2 separate regions of the Homo sapiens genome follow, and region 2 is linked to region 1. The links are contacts of gene promoters, found by promoter capture Hi-C in blood cells and fetal thymus (Javierre and others, 2016). All regions are on one chromosome and are shown on one strand. Each heading gives the region's core, a stretch centred on a gene start or on the middle of the fragment in contact. The rest is flanking DNA. Distances are from core to core; before and after follow the strand shown.

Region 1 (5,967 bases), core at 465-2,964:
AGATGAAAAAGTTCTGGAGCTGGATGATGGTGTTGGTAGCACAACATTATGAAGGCACTTAATACCACTGAACTATATAGACAGTTAAAATGACACATTTGGTGTTATATTTTACCACAATAAAATGTTTTGATAAAAAAGCAAAACAGGCAGGGCGCGGTAGCTCACACCTGTAATCCCAGCACTTTGGGAGGCTGAGGCGGGCGGATCACTTGATGTCGGGAGTTCGAGACCAGCCTGACCAACGTGGAGAAACCCCCGTCTCTACTAAAAGTACAAAATTAGCCAGGCATGGTGGCGCATGCCTGTAATCCCAGCTACTCAGGAGGCTGAGGCAGGAGAATCGCTTGAACCTGGGGAGGCGGAGGTTGCAGTGAGCCAAGATCATGGCATTGCACTCCAGCATGGGCAACAAGAGTGAAACTCCGTCTCAAAAACAACAAACAAACAACCTATCTAAACCAATACTTCTCATTCCATTCTCTGCAGAGCTGATCTCCCAAGCAGAAACTTGAGTAGGTATAGTGGGTATAAAGGTCAACTGCCCTCTCAAATTACAAGGAGATATGCACTTGCCCTTTGGTAATCCTGCTCCTTCTGAATCTGTTCCACCTGATCAAGCAACTGGCGGGCGCGGAGCTGTAGCTCCGTCAGCTTATCTTTTGCAGCAATCTCAGGGTAGTTGTTGGCATGCTCCCCAACCTGGATGTCGAGATGCACCCGCTACAAGGAAACATGGAATGTATGAGTGGTGGGGCCTCCAGTTGTCTGTTCCAGGGTATGGAACCCACTATTGTCCCTGGCTGTGGAGCAGAAGGCAACATCTGTCTCCCCAATTCTGACTGTGCTACAAAGTTTCACAATCTTGATAAATCAAAATTTGGAAACAAGTGAGAGATTCTAAGCTGAAGCCAAAGAGAAAATCCTCTTACCAGTTTGCCACCAGCGAAGAGAGCCATCCTGGTAGAATTGGAGTGCAGACAGATTTGATGGTCACCGGGCGTGTGGGAGGTGAACGTGAAGCGGCCCTCCGAGCCGTACTGCCGGGACAGCACCACCTGCAACATATGTGAGTGAAGGCCCCACCTTTATACCGCAGGCTCTCCAAGTGCAAGTTCCTGTCCCTTGAGGCCTCCTCCAGGCAGTGCTTTACACCCCACGGGAGCTCCACTGAAGAACGGCTGCGTGGGCCAACGCCAGCCTTACCTTGCCGTCGGGGTCCTTCACTTCCACGTGCATGCCCAGGCCAGGGGTCGAGGGCAGGAAGACCTCCTTCTGCTTATCCCACATCTGGGTACGATAGTTGCCTGCGGGGCAGACACATAGTCACGACCGGCCCTAGTGGGCCGCCTCTCCGCCCGGCCCCCTCCGACGTGCGGCCCGGAGCTCTAGGCAGGGGGCCTGGCGTCCTCGGGGCACCCTCAGGCTAGGTACTGGGGGAGCCAGCGACCCGGCTGGGCTCGGGAGGAGGGAGCGCCGCCGAGGGCTGAGCTGGGTACAAAGGGCCTCCCCACCCTCAGCCCGCCTGACCGATGACCATGGTCTCGTCGGGGATTTCCTCGATGAAACAGCGCTTCTCGGTCTCGCCGATGTGGAAGTAGAGCCCCTGGGCGCCTGTGGCGCACAGCGCGAGAAGCAGCAGGGCCTGCCGCCCCATCGCCCGCAGAGGCCCAGCCCCGACACCTGCCATCGCGCCTCAGCCCCTAAGCGCCTGCGCACATTTGCGCATCGCTCTGCGCCTGCGCGCCACCCTAGCGACCCTGAGAGTTAGGGGAAGAGGACGCCTGCGCAGTGATATGTACTCGCCGTCTCCTGCAACTCCATCCGTACCGAACACTGCCGCGCCCCGCCCCCTCACACAGCCCGGCGCCCGCCTACCCCCGCAACGAGAGTAGAGGGCGCATGCGCAATGACGTTCGCCCTTAATTTCTCGCCCCTTACCCCGCAGCTTACCTCCGGCATCTCGCAGGGGAGGCACGCCTGCGCAGTCACGCCCGCCCTCGGCCCCAGTCAGCGATTTGGGTCTCGGAGCACCAAGGAGACGGTGGACGGAATCTGACCAGGCTTGGTGGCTACGATGGCCTGAAGCGTGCCTTTTGGGTTCTCAGCTCGGGCTCACAAGTGTTTTCTGTGCTAAATACAAAAAGCCCTGTGATGTTTTGCTTTGCGTGTCCACCTATCTGACTCGTAAGAACCGAGGCTGAATCCAGACCCACACTCTGTCACGTCGGGAGAGCCTGCCGCGGCGAGCCTCTGCGAGCGGGCATTTCTTGGGTGGGGACCAAAAGCCCAGTGCTGCCATAGTTTCGGATCATTCTTTTAAGAAGCTGGGGCCGGGCGCGGTGGCTGGCACCTGTAATCCCAGCACTCTGGGAGGCTGAGGCGGGCGGATCCCTTGAGCCCAGGAGTTCGGGACCAGCCTGGGCAACATGGTGAAACCCCCGTCTCTACAAAAAATTAACCGGTGTGGTGGTGTGCGCATGTAGTCCCAGCTACTTGGGAGGCTGAGGCAGGAGAATCGCTTGAACCCAGGAGGTCGAGGATGCATTAAGCAGTGATCGCGCTCCAGCCTGGGCGACCGAGGGTGATACCTTGTCTTAAAAAAAAGGTGGGAGAGTGGAACGAAAACTTGGAATAAGTAGGGTCATGGAGCTTGTTTACATCCCCTAGTTACAGCACATCCTTTTGAAAGTGAAAAACAAACTGGAATGTTACTTAGTGGGCATGGAATCGAAGCAACGGAAGGTTAAAACTGTTTTTATCAAGGCCAGGCGGGCGCGGTGGCTCACGCCTGTAATGCTAACACTTTGGGCGGCCAAGGCTGGTGGATCATCTGAGGTTAGAAATTCGAGACCAGTTGGGCCAACAAGGTGAAACCCCCGTCTCTACTAAAAATACATTTTATCAACAGAATTTCGAAACTTTTATATAATAGAATAATTACAATGAACTTTCATAAAGAACTTGAGCATACCTGGATTTTGGTATCCGTAGGGGTCCAGGAATTATCCCCCTTGGATAATAACGGAGGGCTGTACTCATCATCCAACTTCAACAACAGTTTGCTGCCTTTCTCATTTCATGTATCCCTTTCTGCATTTTTTTTTGAAGTGCTGTATATTAAAGCAAATCCTGGACATCATGTCATTTCACCTATAAATACGTCAGTGTGTGTCTCTAACAGATAAGGACTTTATACTATTATCACACCCACCAAAATTTTAAAAATTATTTAACATCACTTAATACCTAGTATGTGTTTAATTTTCCCCATTGCCTTAAAAAATTTTGTACATTAGATATTTAGGGTCCAAACAAGGTTTACTTACTGCATTTCATACAAATATATGTCTCTTAATATATAACAATTTTGGCTGGGCACAGTGGCTCATGCCTGTAATCCCAGCACTTTGGGAGGCTGAGGTGGAAGGATCACTTGAGGTCAGGAGTTTGAGACCAGCCTGGCCAACATGGTGAAACCCTGTTTCTACTAAAAATACAAAAATTAGCCAGGTGTGGTGGTGCACACCTGTAATCTCAGCTACTTGGGAGGCTGAGGCAGGAGAATTGCTAGAATCAGGGAGGTGGAGGTTGCAGTGGGCTGAGATGATGCCACTGTACTCCAGCCTAGGCAACAGAGTGAGATTCTATCTCAAAACAAACAAAAACAGGGCCGGGCGCAGTGGCTCACACCTGTAATCCCAGCACTTTGGGAGGCCAAGGTGGGCAGATCACGAGGTCAGGAGTTCGAGACCAGCCTGGCCAATATGGTGAAACCCTACCTCTACCAAAAATACAAAAATTAGCTGGGTGTGGTGGTGCTCACCTGTAGTCCCAGCTACTTGGGAGACTGAGGCAGAAGAATCGCTTGAACCCAGGAGGCAGAGGTTGCAGTGAGCCGAGATCATGCCACTGCACTCCAGCCTGGGTGAGAGAGAGACTCGTGTCCAAAAAAAAAAAAACAAACCATATAACAACATATATATATATTATACATATTATATATATATTATATATATAAATTTCCCCTCTCTTTTTGTTGTTTGTTATTCATGGCATTTACTTATTGAAGAAACTGGGTCATTTGACCAACAGAATTTTCCACTTTCTGGGTTTTGCTGATTGTATCTTCAGGTGTCATTTAACGTTTTTTGTCCCTGGTATGTCCTGTAATCACAGTTAATTCTAGAGTCAGGGGAGGTTTACAGTGAAACTAATGAAGCTTAATCTTCAGGCCCTCCCTTGCATAGACCCCCGTACCTAATTTCGCATTTATAATTTTGTGTCTTTTTCTTAAAGAGGACTGTGAAATTTGTATAGTTTAAGGCCCCACAAAGCTTGGATTTGCCCCTGGCTAGAAGCTTCATTAGGTTTAGGTGTAATGTTGAGGTTTGGGTTTTTTTGTTTTGTTTTGTTTGCAATAACGCTTCGTGGCTGGCACTATGTACTTCTACTGAGGCACAAGGCGGGTTTGTCTCTTAGTAATATTGTAATTCATCTCTCAATTTGGGGGTTGTCATCCTGATTATCCATGAAGTTTACCATCAGCCTTTCTTCTAATAGTCTAGCAAACGTTGATGATCATTAGACCATTGGTTCTCAACGAGGGTTGATTCTGCCCTGTCCTACCAAGGGGAAATTTGGCAATGTCTGGAGATATTTTGGATTGTTGCAACTGGGTGGGGGGTGGCGGGTGGTACTGCTGTTATCTAGAAAATGAATGCAAGGAATACTGCTAAACATTGTATAATTCACAGAGCACACCTCCCCCCCACAGCGAAGAATTATCCAGCTCAAAATGTCAGTAGTACCCAGGTTGAGAAACCCTAGTGTAGTTTTATGATGTTCCTTAGGTGTGCAAAGTGGTAATTTCAAATGCTCTCATTTCTCCTGCATTTATAAGATGAGATTCTTCTACAAAGGTGAGCATTCCCTCATCTCTCTGGTTACTTTGAAATACAATCCATTCGGGATAGCCAGGATGTATGCTTGATGCTTTCCCACGCACAGTGGCTCTGCCTATAATCCCAGCACTTTGGGGGGCCAAGACAGGAGGACTGCTTGAGCCCAGGAAATGGCAAGATCTTTACAAAATATGTAAAAATTAGACAGGCATGGTGATGCATGCCTGTAATTCCCGCTACTTAGGAGGCTGAGGCAGGGAAATGGCTGGAGCCCAGGAGGTTGAGGATACAGTGAGCCGTGATGGGACGACAGCACTCTAGCATGGGTGACTGAGTGAGACCTTGTCTCAAATAATAGTAATAATAATAAAGATGGATGGATGGATGCCCCAGCAACCTCTAACTGTGACCACTTTGGGTTCTTTGGGGAGAAGGGGCAGTGCTATCATGAATTGATGGATGTTTAGATATTTGATGTGCTTTAATCCATTACAGTCATTGTCCTTTTTTAAATGTTCAGATTGTCTCATCAAATATTTAGTTGCTGCTGTGTCCTTCTGGCACAATCCTAGTAATCCACAATCCTAGTAGTCTTTAGGTCAAGCTTGTCCAACCTGTGGCCCATGCAGCCCAACACAAATTCATAAACTTTCTAAAAACATTATGAGATTTTTTTTTTTTTAGCTCATCAGCTATTGTTAGTGTATTTTATGTGTGGCCCAAGACAATTCTTCTTCTTCCAGTGTGGCCCAGGAAAGCCAAAAGATTGGACACCCTGGACTTCCTTGCTTTCCGTTTTATACATTTACTGCCCAGAAACAAAACCAACCATTTCTCCAAGGAACCCTAATTCACTTTAGTGAGAAATGGTATTTGTATTGGCAAACTTATTTTCTTTCTTTTTTTTTTTTTTTTTAAGGAGGATCCTGAAATTTGTCTTAACTGAGAGATAATATTAAAGAGATTGTATTCTCCACTGCAGAAAATTTAACTTAGGAGGTGAGGCACTGTGGCTCATGCCTGTAATCCCAGCATTTGGGAGGCCGAGGCAGGAAGATCGCTT
Region 2 (5,900 bases), core at 1,933-4,432, 270 kb after region 1:
TTAGTGGAGATTCTGTTGTCATAGGATTTTCCCAGGCTGGCACTTTAGAAATTTATATCCAGGCTGATGATAGCTGTTCCAAAGTTTGAATCAGGAGAAGCAACTTTGGGGAAGTGAGTCTTTAAAAAAAGGTAACTTAAATTCAAGAAGAGGAAGAGGGTGAGCTTCTAAGTAAGAATTTGGAAAAATACGGATGAAGGTACAGACAAGTGTGAGGAAGGGTGTCCAGTGAAATAGGAAGGAATGGAGCAATGTGCCCAGATTAATAGAAGCCTCAAAACTAGGTAGAAGAGTGGAGTTACTTCAGTAAAAATAGCCATTGTTAATTCCTGCTCCTCTGTGTTTCTGGCCTCAGTGGATGGCATTACCAATCTACCAAGGCATAAGCCTGTGAGTTATTCCTTTAACAAATCACTCAGTGCCTACTGTTTGCAGGCACTGTGCTAGGTACTGAGGATTTGGTGATTAGCAAAATAGACATTGTCCTTGCCCTTGTGGTCCTCTGCAGCGGGAGTCAGATGTTAAAGAAATAAACAAATACCATATGTGAATTATAATAAGTTCAAGTGTGCTGAAGGAAAAGAACAGGGTGCTTTAAGAGAGAAACAGGGAATGTAGTTTAGCTGGTGTGGGTGGTCCACAAAGAGCATGCAGGCTGGGCGTGGTGGCTCACTCCTGTAATCCCAGCAATTTGGGAGGCCAAGGTGGGTGGATCATCTGAGGTCAGGAGTTCGAGACCAGCCTGGCCAACATGGCAAAACCCTGTCTCTACTAAAAATGCAAAAATTAGCCAGGCGTGGTGGCGCATGCCTGTTATTCCCAGCTACTCAGGAGGCTGACGCAGGAAAATCACCTGGGCCCAGGAGAGCCTGGGAAGCGGAGGCTGCAGTGAGCTAAGATTGCGCCACTGCACTTCAGCCTGGGCGACAGAGCAAGACTCCACTCCATCTCAAAAAAAAAAAAAAAAAGAAGAGTTGCCCTTGTGAAGGGGGGCTGAAAGAAGTGTCCAATAATGTATGAGAAAGCACCTAGCACTGTACCTAGCACATAATATCCAATAAATGTTAACTTCCTTCCTTAACAGGAAAATCATTTTCTCACCACTCTCTACCCCTCAGCCTTCATGTCATTGATTCAGATTTTGATGAAAGTGGAGTTAGGTTGAAAAAGACTGGTTCTCATTGTAGATAATAGTAATCCTTTCACTGATTTATATATCATCACTAAATTATATCATCACTGTAAACACAGATGCCAGAAAAAAGTCTGCCTACTAACAGTTTTATAAACCAAGTGTGTTAGTAAAATTTAGTTTCTAGTGAACTAGGGTAACAAAAAAGGCAAAGATGAGCTCATGAAGAACACCAGTCTAACCAGAAAATGTTATGTATTAGCATCTATAAATGATAAACTACAAACATTGACAAATTATTCAACTTTGGGCTGGGGATGGTAGCTCATGCCTGTAATCCTAAAGCTTTGGGAGGCCAAGGCATGAGTCACCAGGGCAGGAGTTTGAGACCAGCCTGGGCAACATGGCAAGACTCCACTTCTACAAAAATTAAAAGAAAAAAATTAGCTGAGTGTGTGGCACATGCCTGTGATCCCAGCTAGTTGAGAGGCTGAGGTGGGTAGAGAACTTGAGCCCACGAGTTCAAGGCTGCAGTGAGCTATGTATGATTGTGTCACTGCTCACCAGACAGGCAACAGAACCAGACTGTATCTCTAAAAAAAAAATTATTCAATGTTGCTGGATTTAACCCAGTAATATATAGTATAATTGTTCTCAAAGTGTGATCCTTAGACCACCAGCATCAGCATCACTTGGAACTTGTTAGAAATGTATTCTCACCACCACCCCAGACCTGCTGAATCTGACACTGAGGGTGGGACCTACAAGCGCTCCAGGGGATTCTGGTGCATACTGAAATTTAAGAACCACTGGTATAGTATATGCTGCAGTGCACAGTCCAGAGCCCACGTATTCCTTATAAAACTGGAGCACTTGGCCAGGTGTGGTAGCTCATCCCTGTAATCTCAGAACTTTGGGAGGCTGAGGTGGGCAGATCACCTGAGGTCAGGAGTTCCAGACCAGCTTGGCCAACATGGTGAAACCCCATCTCTACTAAAACAAAAATTAGCTGGGTGTAGTGGCATGCGCTTGTAGTCCCAGCTACTCTGGGAGGCTGAGGCAGGAGAATCACTTGAACCCAGGAGGTGGAAGTTGCAATGAGCCGAGATGACGCCACTGCACTCCAGCCTGGGCAACAGAGCAAGACTCTGTCTCAAAAAAACAAAAACAAAAAAACTGGAGCACTTATTTAGCTCCTGGAAGTGTTGACTGATCATTACTCAGGGATCTCTACCCAGGAATTGGACTTGGCCAAAGGAAGCTGTATCGCCCAAGTTTACACTCCTTTTTAGGGGGCCTACCTCCAGTGACTGGTGGATGTAGGATATAGTGCCTAGCTCTTTTGCCTTAATTTGAGACAATTCTGAAGGGCCATTCCAGCTCCAGAGTTTCTTGTGTGATTAGTTTTGACTTGATCTAACTGCATTGAAGTTCAACTTCTGCGTAATCCTACTTCCTCTATTTTCTCCTAGTAATGTCCCCAAGAGCATTCCATACTATTACCTCTTGAAAGCAAATCCCATTTGTTTCCTGGGAAACCTGAACTAAGACAATGACTTTTCTCTGCAAAAATGTAGTCAATTTTTGAGTAGGCAAGATATTCACACGTACAAAATTTCAAAATGTACAAAGGGTATACAGTGAAAAGACTCCCCTGGTGCAGTGGCTCATGCCTGTAATCTCAGCACTTTAGAGGTTAAGGCAGGAGGATCGCTTGAGCCCAGGAGTTCGAGACCAGTGTGGGTGACATAGTGAGACCCACATCTCTGTGAAAAATAAAAAAAATAAGCCGGGCGCGGTGGCTCACGCCTGTAATCCCAGCACTTTGGGAGGCCGAAGCAGGCAGATCACGAGGTCAGGAGATCGAGACCATCCTGGCTAACGCGGTGAAACCCCGTCTCTACTAAAAATACAAAATATTAGCCGGGCGTAGTGGCGGGCGCCTGTAGTCCCAGCTACTCGGGAGGCTGAGGCAGGAGAATGGCATGAACCCGGGAGGCGGAGCCTGCAGTGAGCCGAGATTGCGCCACTGCACTCCAGCCTGGGCGACACAGCAAGACTCCGTCTCAAAAAATAAAAAAATTAAGAAAATAAGCCAGGCATGGTGGCGTGCACATGTAGTCCCAGCTACTCAGGAGGCTGAGGGAGAAGGATCACTTGAGCCCAGGAATTTAAGGATGCAATGAGCTGTGATTGTGCCACTGCCTTCCAGCCTGAGTGAGAGCAAGACTCATACACACAGACACACAAACTCCTCCCATCCTTGCCCTTAGTCATCAGTTTCACCTCTGCAGAGGTGTTGCTGATACAGTGAAGTGTGTTAGCATTTAGAGACTTCAGACTTAAAGATTACTATACATAGATTGCAGGAGCTTTTTATCCCTGTGTTCACTTTTAAATTCCATTTTAATGCTGCAGTGCTCTTCAAAATATCACAAAGACTGTAAGAGACAGAAATTTTCTTTTGGCTATTCCTTTTTTTTTTTTTTTGAGACGGAGTCTCGCTCTGTCGCCCAGGCTGGAGTGCAGTGGCGCGATCTCGGCTCACTGCAAGCTCCGCCTCCGAGGTTCACGCCATTCTCCTGCCTCAGCCTCCCGAGTAGCTGGGACTACAGGCCCCCGCTACCACGCCCAGCTAATTTTTTTTTGTATTTTTAGTAGAGACGGGGTTTCACCGTGTTAGCCAGGATGGTCTCGATATCCTGACCTCGTGATCCACCCGCCTTGGCCTCCCAAAGTGCTGGGATTACAGGCGTGAGCCACCGCGCCCGGCCTCTTTTGGCTACTTTTGTAAAGGATAGCCAAATTCTCCTTTTTAAAGTACAGTCATGCATTGCTTACTGATGGGGATACCTTCTGAGAAATGTGTCATTAGGAAATTTCATCATCATGCTCACATTATAGAGTGTACTTACACAAACCTAGATGGTATATATAGCCTACTAGACACCTAGCTATATGGCATAGCCTGTTGTTCCTAGGCTACAAATCTGTACAGCATGTTACTAGTGCTGAATACTACTGTAACATAATGGTAAGTATTTGTATACCTAAACATAGAAAAGGAACAGTAAAAATACAGTATAAAAGATACAAGGCTGGGCTGGGGTGGCTCATGCCTATAATCCCAACACTTTGGGAAGCTGAGGTGGGCAGATCACCTGAGGTCAGTAGTTCGTGATTAGCCTGGCCAACATGGTGAAACCCCATCTTTACTAAAAATACAAAAATTAGCTGGGTGTGGTGGCACATGCCTGTAATCCCAGCTACTGGGGAGGCTGAGGCAGGAGAATCGCTTGAACCTGGGAGGCAGAGGTCGCAGTGAGCCGAGATCGTGCCATTGCACTCCAGCCTGAGCAACAAGAGCGAAACTCTGTCTCAAAAAACAAACCAACAAACAAAAACCCCAAAAAAGATACAAAATAGTACACTTGTATAGGGCACTTACCATAAATGGAGCTTGCAGGACTGGAAGTTGCTTTGAATGATTCAGTGAGTGGGTGGTGAATGAATGTGAAGGCCTAGGACTTTATACTGTATAGTACTGGAGACTATGAACAGTGTGCATAGGCTCCTCTAAATTTATAAAAATATTTTTCTTCAATAATAAGTTAACCTTAGCTTACCATAACTTTTTAACTTTATAAACCTTTACATTAAAAAATTTTTTTGAGTTTTTGTAAAACACTTAGCTTAAAACACAAATACCTTGTATGACTGCACAAAATGTTTTATTTCTTCATATCCATATTCTGTAAGCTTTTTGCTTTTTATTGAGAAGGGATTTTACTCTGCCACCCAGGCTGCAGTGCAATGGCGCAATCTCAGCTCACTGCAATCTTCGCTTCCTGGGCTCAAGTGATTCTCTCACCTCAGGCTCCTGAGTAGCTGGGACTATGGGCACAGATCACCAGGCCCGGCAAATTTTTGTATTTTTTGTAGAGACGGGGTTTCACCATGTTGCCCAGGCTGGTCTCCAACTCCTGGACTTAAGTGATCCTTCCCCTCTTGGCCACCCAGAGTGCTGGGATTACAGACCCGTGAGCCATGGCACCTGGTCTATTTTTAATTAAAAAAAATTGTTTTTTCACTTTTAAAAACTTGTATGTTAAAAATGAAGAAACAAACACACATATTAGCCTTGGTCTATACAGGGTGAGGATCATCAATATCACTGTCTTCCAGCTCCACATCTTGTCACACTGGAATGTCTTCAAGGGCATTAACACATATGGAGCTGTCATGTCCTGTGATAACAATGCCTTCTTGTGGATCCCTCCTGAAGGACCTGCCTGAGACTGTTTTACAGTTCTTTTTTTATGAGTAGAAGGAGTACACTCTAAAATAATGATAAAGGGCCAGGCGTGGTGGCTCACGCCTGTAATCCCAGCACTTTGGGATGCCGAGGTGGGCGGATCACTTGGGGTCAGGAGCTTGAGACCAGCTTGGCCAACATAGTGAAACCCCGTCTCTACTAAAAATACAAAAATTAGCCGGGCGTGGTGGCAGATACCTGTAGTCCCAACTACTCGGGGGAGCTGAGACAGGAGAATCGCTTGAACCTGGGGCGGAGGTTGCAGTGAGCTGAGATCGAGCCACTGCACTCCAGCCTGGGCGACAGAGCGAGACTCTGTCTCAAAAAATAAAAAATAAAAATAAATAAAATATTGATAAAAAGTACCAGTAACTACTGGGCGCGGTGGCTTATGCCTGCAATCCCAGCACTTTGGGAGGCCGAGGCTGGCAGACACCTGAGGCCAGGAGTTCG

What was found. The method cuts DNA at HindIII sites, captures the fragments that hold promoters and counts their contacts. A CHiCAGO score of 5 or more calls a contact.
Region 2: a fragment that was not itself captured here is called in contact with the fragment with the promoter of TMED4 in region 1 in 13 of 17 cell types (naive B cells, M0 macrophages, naive CD8 T cells and 10 more); the score reaches 8.9 in naive B cells.

Annotation. Positions count from the first base shown.
Region 1 is chr7:44,580,517-44,586,483 of GRCh38, forward strand. It overlaps TMED4 (transmembrane p24 trafficking protein 4), which reads right to left and starts at 1,715. Exons shown (of 5, transcript NM_182547.4): 1 at 1,531-1,715; 2 at 1,207-1,307; 3 at 933-1,058; 4 at 577-723. The coding sequence starts at 1,690. RefSeq lists silencers at 1,339-1,438, 1,839-1,998 and an enhancer at 2,089-2,198. The HindIII fragment of the contact is 9,471 bases long and covers 1-4,220 here.
Region 2 is chr7:44,850,215-44,856,114 of GRCh38, forward strand. No RefSeq gene overlaps it. Among named protein-coding and RNA genes, the nearest start is that of H2AZ2-DT, 4.7 kb to the left of the region's middle. The HindIII fragment of the contact is 3,414 bases long and covers 1,476-4,889 here.